Linked DNA regions of Homo sapiens: regions 1 and 2 are each linked to region 3. The links are contacts of gene promoters, found by promoter capture Hi-C in human tissues and cell types (Jung and others, 2019). All regions are on one chromosome and are shown on one strand. The core of a region is centred on a gene start or on the middle of the fragment in contact, and the rest is flanking DNA. Distances in the headings are between cores, read along the strand shown.

What was found. The method cuts DNA at HindIII sites, captures the fragments that hold promoters and counts their contacts. A contact is called where the count stands out against the background at its distance.
Region 1: a contact is called between a fragment that was not itself captured here and the fragment with the promoter of VASH2 in region 3, in 1 of the 25 tissues and cell types used here (spleen).
Region 2: a fragment that was not itself captured here is called in contact with the fragment with the promoter of VASH2 in region 3 in 1 of the 25 tissues and cell types used here (lymphoblastoid cells).

What each region holds. Positions count from the first base shown.
Region 1 is chr1:212,666,878-212,671,351 of GRCh38, reverse strand. No RefSeq gene overlaps it. Among named protein-coding and RNA genes, the nearest start is that of LINC02773, 3.5 kb to the right of the region's middle. RefSeq lists a silencer at 3,868-4,087. The HindIII fragment of the contact is 6,400 bases long and covers 1-4,474 here.
Region 2 is chr1:212,615,596-212,620,283 of GRCh38, reverse strand. ATF3 (activating transcription factor 3) reads right to left here. Exons shown (of 4, transcript NM_001674.4): 3 at 2,050-2,157; 4 at 1-926. The coding sequence ends at 729. Among named protein-coding and RNA genes, the nearest start is that of GARIN4, 6.5 kb to the left of the region's middle. The HindIII fragment of the contact is 5,545 bases long and covers 546-4,688 here.
Region 3 is chr1:212,948,629-212,952,830 of GRCh38, reverse strand. VASH2 (vasohibin 2) reads right to left here and starts at 2,290. Exons shown (of 8, transcript NM_001301056.2): 1 at 2,091-2,290; 2 at 1,013-1,492. The coding sequence starts at 1,288. RefSeq lists enhancers at 1,585-1,634, 2,155-2,304. The HindIII fragment of the contact is 12,745 bases long and covers 1-4,202 here.

The sequences.
Region 1 (4,474 bases), core at 879-3,378, 280 kb after region 3:
ATCCTGAGAACCCTCATGAAGCAGCTTCTGTGCAAATGGGTGTAGAGGGCACAAGGGTGGTGACCACGTAGAAAACTTGGGTGCTATGGCCTGGGGAAAAGCAGAGATGAATTCACTGTGGCCTCTAGGTCTCAATTTCCTCCTGGTACAGTGAGACTAATAATACCTACCTTGCTCAGTTGCTTTGAGGATTAAATAAGATCATGAATGTAAAATGCCTAGAACAGTGTCTGGCTCTAAGTGGTATCTGTCATAACATCAATTATTATTGATAAGATGAAACCATGGAGCAACCAAGATCCTGTCTTGCATATCCTACTTCTTTGCTGCCTTTTCCTTTGTGAGAAAAGCCTGCCTTGAGCTCCCTTACTCCTTCCAACCTTGGGTTCTCTTTGGGATCTGCAATATCAACAAATGGCTGGACAGACTGCAAGGTGCCATCTGTGGCCCCCAAACAGGACAGGCCAAGGTGTGACTGAGTAGCTCACTTGAGGGTAAAACCTGGGACTTCAGCCTCAGGGACAGCATAACGTCCCACTCTGCAACCAGCAGGTTGTAATGAGTTGGGAAATTGGGGCTCCACGGTAGAGTAGAAAGAGCGCAGAACCAAACTGCTTTCAAATCTCGGCTCTGTCACCAGATGTATGACTTTGAGCAAGTTGTTTAACCTCTTTGTGCCTCGGTTTCTTGATCTGTTAAATGGGGATGATAATATTACCCACCTCATAGGGATGTTGTGTGAATCAAAAGTGTTAACACATACAGTTGTCTCTCAGTATCTTCCGGGGATTGGTTTCTTCGGGTAAAGAGAACCCAAATACTGGCAGGAAAACCTCGCTCCTCCAACCTCATCCCTGCGCTGATGACTCAGGGAGAAACCACACAGTAATTTACCTAGCAGTCTTCATGGACATCAAAATCCAAAGACGCTCAAGTCCCTGACATAAAATGGCTTAGTATTTACATTGACTTATGCACATCCTCCTGTATACTTTAAATCAACTCCGGATTACTTATAATTCCTAATACAATGTAAATGCTATGTAAATAGTTGTTATACTTTATTGTTTAGGGAATAATGACAAGAAAAAAATGTAGATATTCAGTACAGATGTTTGGTTTTTTAAAAATATTTTCTATCCACTGTTGGTTGAACCCACAGACATGGAGGACTGAATGTATGAAGTACTTGGAATTGTACCTGGCCCAGAGTAAACCCAAGACAAATGATCAAATTTGGCTTTTGATCATTTTTGATTGGGGGGTGACTAGGGTGTGAAGGGTGTGTGGCCAGAGGACTGAGGACAGCCGGGTGGGCAGGCAGAGACCTCCACTTGCCATGGTTTATGCGTCTTTAAGGAAGGAAAGGACAAAGATGGTGGCTGGGATGGAGAACGACGCGCTTGTGCAAAGTCAAACAAACCTCCCAAGGACTCTCACTAATATCCTAGGAGCTTCCACAGGATCTCAGGGCTCTGCCCAGGCCACCATCGCCTCATCCTGCAGAGGGAGGATGGCTTGCGTCTGCATGACCCTTCTGTGAACCAGGCCTGCCAGCTGCAGCCTGTGCCGCCCAGCCCTGCTGGCCTGCTCCTCCTCGGGTACATTGGTGCATGAACCTTGCCCTGGGGATGTCTGACGTCTCTATCATTATTTTTCCTTCTTTCCATTTCTGCTTTGCTTAACAAAACTTGCTGAATGATATGTATTAATATTTGATAAGCCATCTTAGGTTATTCCTGGAATAGGCAGAGAATAAAGAAATAAACCACCTAGTTCCTAGAGATTTTAACTTTCTTAAAGTTTTTATAGCAGTGGTTTTCAAATTCATTTTTTTCAGAGGATCCCCCTTTTAAAAAATGAAATCTTTTCTAGAAACCCTACCATATGTAAACAGCCTGATCAGGTTAAAGCAGGGAAAAGGACCTCAGCACCCACTTGCTGCTTACCCCCCGGCCACTCCCTGCCCGCCTTGCCTACCCCCTTGTCCCCCAAGGTGTCTTTACCAAGTCCTGTCTCTGAGGGGCACTGTTTGTAAACCATGAGTCCTTTCCATGGAAATCACACTGCAATGTTTGGTATGTCATTTTGGTGCAAAAATAAGGAAGTGAGATGGTTTCCTATGACCTTTTGGACAATTTCCTAATTATTGCTGCTAAACAGCAATATCTATACCTGCTACATCTATGTCTGCTATATAGACATAAACTGCTAAAGAATGAATATTAGTTAACCTCTAACAGGAAATAACAAAATGAACAAAAACAAAAGTCCTGTTTACCTTTCTATTACAGAAGATAATCATTTGTGAGTTTAAGTAACAATTGAGCTTTAATTATCACTGACAGAATGAAAACAAATAACAGCTAGATGCAGATCTTCAAAGTGAAATACAAACAAAATACAATTCAAAAGTAGTTTAGAAACCGAGTTTTAACTAATAATTAACACAACCTCTACATCAGCTACCCCCAGTCTCCCCCCATACAGGGAATTCTCCATTCCTCAAATTGTCTCTACTTTCCCATCCTTTCATGTTTAACCCTCTTCTCAAATCCCAGCTCCTTCGTGAAGCCTCGTGTGATCTACCTAGTCAAAGCCCAGTGGCACTTTATTAAATACAGTCTTCTCTATCTTAGGGTGTGGGCTTAGTCCCCTCAGTGAGGGGGCTGACGTGGCATCTGGGCCACTTTCACACAGTGGTCAGCCCCGCCGAGCACAGTGGACACCCAACCACTGCTCCTTCCATTCTCTCTCTCATTCTCCCTGGTACTCAAGATGGTGCTGCTTCTGAAAGGGTTAAACTTTATATGACTGTGTTGGTAGAAAGACAAATACATTAAATTCTCTTTCAACATCAAGTTCATTTTTTCTGATTTTAAAAGAAATTAAAATATTTACATAGGCCCCTAAAAGCAAGATAGGCCCTTGGTGATGCTACTGTGCACGTATATAAAGCTGCCACTTTACTAGCTATGTGGACTTGGGCAATTTACTTAACCACTCTAGGCTTTAGTTTTCTCATTTGTAAAATGGGGATAATGATAGCACCCAATTCGCAGAATTAAATGTCAGCTATGACTTGCCTGCATTGCGAAGTTAAAAATAGGGAAACACAAAGGATAATATCTTCTTGATTTCTTTTTATGCTCTGATCCAATATCAAATCTAGCTTTTCAACTTATTTTTGGCAAACATAAACTTCCTATTTCAAAGGAAAAGCACTAGAAAGAACAAATGAAACCAAACCAAAAGCTCTTCCGAGACATCCAAGGACTCTTGCCAAACAGCAACTTGATGAGTTCACAGTAAATGAATCAGAGACATATGGTTTAGATTCCCCACTCAAAGTCCTCAGGGGGAAACAGGAAGGCCGAGGACTCCAGAGAGCAGCTGGCCGTGTCAGCCCCACTCTGCCAGCTGAGCAAGAGATTACGATGCCCTGGAGCCCCTCAGGCATCTCCCGGATGATCCTTTCCCCTGGGCTCAACTCACGTTTCTCATTTGACTCTGTCTTCCCCCAGAAGGAAGATGTCACCCAGGAACCCTAACTGGAAACCGGACAGTTACCAGGGCACCCAAAACCCAATATTTGGTTATTACTTCATCCTTGACCTTCATTCCATTCATTCCCAGCTGCAGACAGTAGGATTTCTAAGGAAGAGTTAAGAGGGTAGAGGTGGTGGACTGTCTCTCTGTGATTGTTGTTTTCCAGGAACTCAGCTTGTTGCCAGGGAGATGTCACACACTAGAATGTTCCCACTGACCAGCAAGGGAACTCTGGAATGACTCATGTGAGGACCTGCCCCAGGAAAGGGAGGGTTATGGCCTAAAACCACACCACCCCCCTCATTGTATCAAACTCCATCCTTTTCAATGACAACTTCAGCCCCTCCCCTTCCCCCACCAGGAAGCCTTCCTAGATGAACCAGAAGCACTGTCTACCCCAAGCCACCCTCACACCTCCAACACTTCATTTGCATATGTGGTTAGCTTTTTAATGATATCAGAGCAATCTGTGAACAGCTTCAGCAGGGGGCCCTCTGGCAGAATTGAATAAATTGGACGGTTAAAGACCTGATTGAGGCCAGGTTTGTTGGCTCACTCCTGCAATCCCAGCGCTTTGGGAGGCCTAGGAGGGAGGATTGATTGAGCACAGGAGTTTGAGATCAGCTCCAGGCAACATGATGAGATCCCCATCTCTAAAATATAAAATAAAAATTAGCCAGGTGTGGTGGCAGGCACCTGTAGTCCCAACTACTCAGAAGACTGAGGTGGGAGGATCGCTTGAACCCCAGAGTTCGAGCCTGCTATGAGCCATGATTGTGCCACTGCACTCCAGCCTGGGCAACAGAGTGAGACCCTGTCTCAAAAATTAAAAAAATATATATATGACTGAGAGCCAGCTTGGTAAAGCCTTCAGAGCCAATGTGCCCTGCAGTCCGTCAACACACATGGAATGATTGCGCACTGG
Region 2 (4,688 bases), core at 2,069-4,568, 330 kb after region 3:
ACCTGCCATCATACTGCCCATGGATTTTGTGTTAACGCTGGGAGAATTCTGTCCTCCTCTTGCTGACAAGCTCTTCTGGCCACCTGAATATCTTGAGATACTGCACGTGGTGACAGCCCCGCCCCCCAAAACTCTTAGAAACCAGATCTGAGAAAAAGCATATAAAAGTCACATCAGTGTTGTGTGACACAAACATCGGAAGAGTACATTGCCTAGTTTTCTTGCACACACAATTTCTGGACATAACAGCATATTTGCTAGAAAGCACAACCCTGGCCGTTGCACAACTTCACTAAATGCTGTTCTCACTCCACATCCCCTACGAGTGACAATGGTAGCCACGGTGAAGGAGATGGCCCCATCCCTCCCACCCGAGGTACAGACACTGCTGCCTGAATCCTAACGGTGGGCATCCTGGTTTTTTGTAGAATCCAGATGAAAGGCGGGCAGGACACCAGCTGGGGGCCATCTGGAACATAAGAATGGCCAGTGTGTTAAGGCCTAAATCCTGGAGTTGAGGCAAAGATGCACTTGCCCTGGTCCAAGACCCACTCTGGGGCAGAATGGGAAGGGCCTGCTGAATCACTGCAGGCCCTCCCGCCTTGATGGTTCTCTGCTGCTGGGATTCTAGAGGTACACAGGAAGACAGCTCTCCAATGGCTTCAGGGTTTTGGGTATAAAATGAGGATTCAATGAGGACTCCCCAGTCGCCCCCATACCACGACTGCTTAGCTCTGCAATGTTCCTTCTTTTATCTGTTGGATAAAGAGGTTTCTCTCATCTTCTGGAGTCCTCCCATTCTGAGCCCGGACAATACACGTGGGCCGATGAAGGTTGAGCATGTATATCAAATGCTGCTTCTCGTTCTTGAGCTCCTCAATCTGAGCCTTCAGTTCAGCATTCACACTTTCCAGCTTCTCCGACTCCTGGGGGACAAGCAACAGAGGCATCAAGAAAGGAGCCAAGGGCCAGTGAGGAGGGGGTGGCCTGGGCTGCTGCCTGGATGCAGGGGTGTACCTGGGACACACCGGGGCTCATCAAGCTGCGAGAGGAAGATGGGAGATGGGAGAGCAGCACTGGGTTTAGGAAAATGCAGACCCTCTTCTTCAGAGAAACCCTGGTGATGCCACAGAGGCGGCCTGTGGCTCTGCTAATACTGAAGCTGCAGTTCAGATACCTCATTTGCATGAGTCAACAGCCCATATGCAGGTCTTCTGGACCCAAAAGGGCCTTGGGAGCTGGGGAGAAATCCAGACTTATGGTGGCTTAGTCGATTCTGAGTCACAGATCTCAATGAGAAGCTCATCTCCCCAGAAAAAATGTATATAGCAACACACAAAATTCCCTAATTTTCACTGATCCCCTGAAGCAATCAACAGAACTTTTGGGGATCTGTGGGACTTGGGCTAAGACTCTGTCATGGCCTGTCCACATTTGGAGGAGGGACACAGCCACTGGAAAGACTGCTGAGCACCACCGGCCACCCTGCTTGCCCACAAAAGCTATTTCCCCTAGTGTCTCTCAGGCGGGCCGGCTGAACGCAGCCAGGGGCTCAGCTTACTGGCTAAGCCAGGGAGAAGGGCTCTAGAGTTAGGAACCAGACAAGAATGCAAAGCAAGTGTAACCACTGCTTGTGGATTAAGGAAATAACTTGTTTGAAGAGATTAATTAAAGGCTTTTCATAGTGAGCCAAATGAGAGCTGGCAGCTTCCTTTTCTCAGGAAAACAGTCAAGTGAAGCCTCTTTAACTGGGCTGGCATGTCCTGCAGCCTGGAAGCTGATGGACATGTATGAACCGGCCGAGGCTGCTGGGAGTCAGGCATCAGACGAATTCACACACCTGTTTTTATACATCCACCGTCACATCCATTGTGTTAACTGCTTTGCCACCTCCTCATTCTGCAACTGGCATTTCTGCTACCAGCTACAAGGCCCTTCTTGGGAAACTATAACCAAGTAGGGGGTTTTCTAACTCTTCTTCTGATAGCCACATGAAGCTGGTGAAGACAGGCGTGAGCGAGAGGAAGGGTAAGGCTAGAAGGCACTCACTTTCTGCAGGCACTCCGTCTTCTCCTTCTTCTTGTTTCGGCACTTTGCAGCTGCAATCTTATTTCTTTCTCGTCGCCTCTTTTTCCTTTCATCTTCTTCAGGGGCTACCTGTAAAATCCAAAAGAAACACATTTAAAGGGCAGTAAGAAATGCCACCTACCTCAAATACACTGCCTTTTACTGCCAGCAAAAGCTGGCAGACAAGGGCAATGCTAGCGCTAAAAGACCCCGAAATACTAAAGCTCTAGACTTTTGTGTGAAAACCCCTACACACACACACACACACACGCACACACACACACGTGAGTGAACAACAAAAATCAAAGTTAAAATTATACCGGCAATATATTAGTAAATTAAAAGTTAGCCAATTTTAAAAATGCATTTGGATTTTGAGATGAGGATAATATGCAAATTGATAACTATTGGTATTAACTATAATCATTTAAAGCCGAAACAGATTCTGTCTGGTAAACATCTCCTTTCTTTGAGAACCAGGAATGATCTCAGGATCATTACCTAGCCACCCACTCCCGGCCTCTTCTTCAATTCAAGACCCAAGGGCAACCCCATTCACCTCTGACTTCACCTGGAGCATCAGAGCACCAGCTTCCCAAATTTGGGAGAAGCCCATGATGCTCCTGTAGAAAAGGCACCTAAGCCCATTCCCAACCAAAGCGGCATTAATCGGCCCATGCTGGGGTGCCACCTGCAAGTGGTGAACTAGGACAGTCTTTTAGGTCAGTCCCACTACTCCTTGCCCAAAGGCTGCAATCATGCCAGTTGAGTAAGCCTGAAACACTTCCACTTGCCACCATGAGGAAAAGGCCAATAAAATGGTGGAACCTCAGCTCTGACATCCTTAAGCCACTATGGCATCGCCAGAAGCCACCTCCCAGACTTCTCACCATGTTTATTATTCCAGGAGTCTTACCCAAGGTTGCCAAGCGTGGAACAGTGCAAGTGTGTCAGACAGAAGTGAACCTGGAGCAACACCTGGTCCCAAGGCTGTGAACATTGCTACAGGGAAGGGTGGGGCAGGCTGCCTGGTCCTTGCTCTACTGTCTGGGTGCTTGGGTCCTAGTAGTGATAAAAACAGGGACCACCACGCTCCAAGCTTCTTCAGAACAACTGGACACAGAAGGTGGCCTCATCCTGACTCATGGCTTTAAGTGCCATCTATATGCCGATAATTTCCAACTCTATTATCTCTAGCCCAGACTGTCCTCTGAACTCCAGACTCACATATCCAACTGCCTGCTTGACATCTCCACAGGGGTCTGCAGAATAGGACAGACCTCCTGCTCTTGCCACCACCCTAACCCCTATAATCCCAAATCTCAGCAGCAAATGGACGCTCCATTCTTACAGCTATGCTGGCCAGAAAACTCAGTCACCCTTGAGTCTTCCCTTTCTCTTACACCCCACATCCAATCTATCAGCAAATCAGCTTTACCTTCAAGTCAGATCCAAAGCCAACCACTTCTCAGCACCTGCACTGCTCCCTCCTGCTGCAGGCCCCCTGACTCACGTGGATTCCTGCCACGGCCTCCTTTCTGTGCACTCAGCTTCTGTCTTACCCCTACTGCCCATTCTCAACATGACAGCCAGGGTGATCATTTAAAAATATAAATCAAGGCTGGGCGTGGTGGCTCACACCTGTAATCCCAGCACTTTGGGAGGCCGAGGCGGGCGGATTACCTGAGGTCAGGAGTTCGAGACCAGCCTGGCCAACATGGAGAAACCCCGTCTCTACTAAAAAAATTCAAAAATTAGCCAGACGTGTGGCGGGCACCTGTAATCCCAGCTATTTGGAAGACTGAGGCATGAGAATCCCTTGAACCTGGGAGGCAGAGGTTGCAGTGAGCCAAGATCATGCCACTGCACTCCAGTCTGGGTGACAGAACAAGACTCTGTCTCAAAAAAAAAAGTGTGTGTGTGTATCTGTGTGTGTGTGTGTGTGTTGAATCTTGTTGCTTCTCTGCTCAAAAGCCTTCTGTGGTTTCCCACCTCACTTTGAGCCCAGGGCTGCATCTATACAATAATAATCTGTAAGACCCAATATGACCAGCCCCTATTTATCTCCCACCCCTATACTCTGCCCCACTGCACAGCCCACCAGGCACCAATACTTCCACCTCAGTGCCCTTAATTTCTTTTACCAGATACCCACGTGGCTTCTTCCCTCTCCTCTTTCCTTCTTCCTTTCCTTTTGACCTCTGCTCAAAAGTCACTATCAGTGAATCCTTACCTGACTTCCTAATTTAAAACAGCAACCCCGGCTGGGTGCAATGGCTCATCCCTGTGATCCCAGTGTTTTGGGAGGCTGAAGCAGGAGGATCGCTTGAGCCCAGGAGACTGAGGCTACAATGAGCCGTGATCACCCCACTGCACCCCAGCCTGGGTGATGGAGCAACACTGTCTCTAAAAGCAAAATGAGTCTTGCTCCATCACCCAGGCTGGAGTGCAGTGAGGTGATCACGGCTCATTGCAGCCTCAACCTCCTGGGCTCAAGCGGTCCTCCCACCTCAGCCTCGCAAGTAGATGAGACTATAGGCCATGTACCACCTTGCCCAGCTAATACTGTCATAGAGATTGGGTTTCATTGTGTTGCCCAGGCTGGTCTCAAACTCCTGGAC
Region 3 (4,202 bases), core at 1,041-3,540:
GCTGTCACCAGGCTGGGGAATCAACCAGATGGCCTTCCGGGTCTCAAGTCTGGCATTCCTAGACCTGCCCAGGAATCTTCTCAGCCGTACCAGCGTCCCCAGGGTCCAGGGGAAACCATCCGCCACGCTATAACCCCGAGGCTCGGCAGCATTTCTCCCCAGTTTGCATTTTGATGTTTCATATAACGTATCTACTCCCACCAGGGTACATCTCCCTCCCTCGGTAAAGATATCCTTAGCCACCAAACCCAAATGGCTCACTGGCTTCTCTCCAAGGCAAAAAGAGAGTTTCACTCCTCATCCTCTTTTTCTATCCAGTGAGACTAATTCATCATGTGTACTGGAAAGTCCCTTTTAAGTCTCAGCCAAAAGTCTTTCTTTTTTCTTGGAGCACAAATAAGCTGGGAAGAGAGAGAGAGAGTTCACCGTTTTGCAAGTTTCAGAGGTGAAAGTCACTGTCACACACACACACACAAAAAAACCAGAAAGAAAAGAAAAAAAACTGGCAAAAAGTCTGGAAATTATTCACACTGAGAAGTCTGACTGGTTGATTTCAAATTCATTCACAGCTTAATAAATCATTTGCTGGGGGAAGAGGGGAGCAGAGGAGGAGCAAGACACTCCAAAGAGAACAAGCAGGGTGGGATCCCTGGGGTCTGTGCATTCTTTGGCATCGCTGGTACCTGGTGGCTCTAGCTTTTGCTGAAGGAGGATGTATGTGGGGGTGAGTAAATAATAGAGTTTGGCTGGAGCTTCAAAGACACCTTGGCACAATCCAATTACACAGTCCCAGGATAGCAAGCCCGCTACCTCTCCCTTCCCCATTTCTTAGGCTTCCAATCTAAATATCTCAATTAGAAAAGGGCTGGCAGGAAGGAATGGGGAGAGGAAGGGAGTTTGTAGCAGGACTAGGAAAATGGAGATTGCCTGTGTTTGCTATGTATAGGCTGAAACGGTCCCATCGCTGCCTACCTACCCCCAGCCCCCCAACTCCGCCCTGGAAGCCACTGACCTTTGCCAAGAAGGCGGCGTTCCTGATGGCGCCCACCATTTCTCCCCCCTTAGGGTGCACCTTGGCCACGTGCATCCACATGCGCTCCCAGGTGTGGCTGTCGATGGGGAAGCCGCTCTTGTTGACGTGGAACAGCACCCCGCCGTCTTTGTCCTCCTCCTCTGAGCCCCCGCTGGTGGCGAGGCTCACGGGCCGCGCGTGGCTGCTCCGGGACCGGGTGCCTTTGGCGCCTTTGGGGTGGGGGCAGCGGTGAGTGTCGGCCGCGGAGCCGGTCATGGTGGGGCCTGGGCGGGGAGCGAGGTACTGGGGGCGCGCGGCGGCGGCAGCGGCGGCGGCGGCGGGGGGCGTGTGCGCGCGGGCGCGGCGAGGGGATCAGCGCCCCGCGGGGGCGGCCTTCTCCATGCCTCTCGCTGCGGCAGGACTCACCAAGGGGGAGCGGCGGCGGGAGCTCCGCGGAGGCTCCCTGCTTACCGGCGGTGCCTGAAATCAGCGGAGACACAGCTGACACCACAGCTAAGTGGACGCACAGCGGAACCGAGTGAGGGGTCCCGGAGTGTCTCCACGACACTCCCCGCTCCCCCCTGCACGCTGACAGCCTCCCTGAGAATCGATGACGGGCTTCCAGCCCTGCGATTACCTAGAAAGGCAGCTCAAAATGTGCCACGAAGCTTCACACACACCTAAACCCGGGGGGTTGGGGATGGAGGGGCACAAGGAGCTTGGGGGATGCGGAGCGCAAGATGTGGGGAGAAGAAAGACAGCTTGTGTAGCATGAAGGAACAGGAGGTTCCCGCAAGGCTCCACACATTCCTGGGTCCTCAGATGTGGCCAAGAGAGGAGGGGAGCCACGAACGTGCTGGCATGTGAGCGCCCAGAGCTGGCGCGAGGGCGCTGCAGCAGCCTTGGCTTGCAAGGCGGCCCGCTTTCTTCCAGGAAGCCCTCCCGGACCCCGGCGGGGATCTAGTGGAAAGAGCTCCATCCGCCCCCTTTTCCCCGAGTTCCAGCGCCTATCACCGGGAGGGACTGGCTGCAGGCGGGCGGCGCGCAGGAAGGGCGCGCGGCAGCTCCAAGATCCTACCTCGGGACGGTTGGCTTCATGGCTGCAGAGCCTCTCCGGGCGGCGGGAGAGCAGGGGCTGCTGCTGCTGCTGCTGGGCCTGGGGCTGGGGCTGGGGCTGCTGGGGCTTGCTGGGGCCGTCGCCTCATTCCATGTCCCATTCTCGAATGTTATTCTGTGACATATAACCAAGTCACCCGGGCAGCCGCCGATGTTCCGAATGCGTCTATTGGCCACCGCAACAAAGAGGGGCGGGTCCCGGGCTCGGGACTCTACAACCCCGGGCTCCGCGACGCTCTGATTGGCTCCAGGGGTTCTCTGGCGGGAGGGGACAGGAGTAGGGGGAGCCTGGCGGCCACGCGAAATCCGATCGCTGTGGTGTCCTGAGAGCCCCGCGGGCTGGAGCGTTTGGCCATGGGACTTAAGATCGAGTTTCCCCAGGGGTCGTGGCACTTCGAGGGTTTGCAACTGTGGAAGCAGAGGAGAAACAAAACCACCCGAGAAGTGACCCCGCGGAAGCAGAGGGTTTGGCATCAGAAGAGCATTCCCTGAGGGACGCTGGACACACTTACCTGCCTCTACCCGGGATGATGAGTTGTTCATCCTCTACCTGGGATGATGAGGGGCTGTTCATACCTATGCGTGAAATTAAATCTTTTTTAAATCCCGCATTTAAAAATTCCTCAAAATTAACAAGTGGGTGCAGCTTTGGATCCTCTGGTATTAGTCATGGTTAATAAAGTCCCTTTAAGCCCAAGTTGAGAGGAGACAATAAAACTCAAGAGGTCAGGCAGGCCCTGACTGTTCTGCCACAGCTGTTGAGTGAGAGGAGGGATGGAGAGATGCTTCCAAACCATGGTGAAGTGGGTGGCTATCCCACACTCACTACTGAAACACCTTCTCTTTCTTTTTCTTTAAGAAAGAGGAGAGCAGGTTGAGGTGGGAAGAGCACCAGACTGCTGACCTGAAGGCTGGCTCCTGGTCCAGGTTTGTCACTTTGCTCAGCTGTGTGACCCTGGACAAGCCACTTCCCTGCTCTGGGCCTTAGCTTCTCTTTCTGAAAGGAGAGCAGACCTCCCGCTCTCCAGGGTCTGTTCTGGCTGTAAGGTTCTGTGATTCCCTGACTTCCTCTCTTGTGACACTGAGGATCCTGGCCATAGCATCCTTTCTCTTTAAACTGCAGGCCAGCAGGCCAGCTCTGAGCAAAGCAGTTATGAGACCTATGCTAAGTGAACCTTGAATTAAGAAGACAGTTGTCAAAGTGCCACTGATGGCGGGTCAGTTTCTGGATGCTTATCCTGACAAGTTGCCTGTCATGGAACTGGAACTTCTCTTCCACAGGAGGGCAGAGACCCCTGAGGGGTAGTTGAGAGCCAGGGCTTGGGTGAGGAGACCTGGATTCTGGACTTAGCCCTGCACTGCTCCCTGAGACAGAGCCCATGCCAAGAACTTTATAGATTCAATAATGAGAATAGGGCAGACGTGGTGCCTCACACCTTTAAACCCAGCACTTTGGGAGAAAGAGGAGGAAGGATTACTTGAGGCCAGGAATTAGAGACTGGACCAACATAGCGAGACCTTGTCTCTACTAAATAAATATTTTGAAATTAGCCAGATGTGGTGGCACACACCTGTAGTCCCAGCTACTCAAAAGGCTGAAGTGGACATGTAGAATGAAACTGGATCCTCGTCTCTCACCTTACACAAAAATCAACTCCAGATGGATCAAAGACTTAAGTCTAAGACCTGAAACCATAAAAATTCTAGAAGATAACATGAGAAAAACACTTCTAGACATTAGCTCAGGCAAAGAAATCATGACTAAGACCTCAAAAGCAAATGTAACAAAAATGAAAATAAATAAATGAGACCTAATTAAACTAAAAAGGGTCTGCACAGCAAAAGAAATAATCAGCGGAGTAAACCGACAATCCACAGAGTGCGAGCAAATATTCACAAACTGTGCATCTGACAAAGGACCAGTATCCAGAATCTACAAGGAACCCAAACAGATCAGCCAGATAAAACCAATCCCATCAAAAAATTGGCAAAGGACATGAATAGACAATTTTCAAAAGAGGATATACAGTCAACAAACATATGAAAAAATGTTCAACATCACTAATTATCAGAG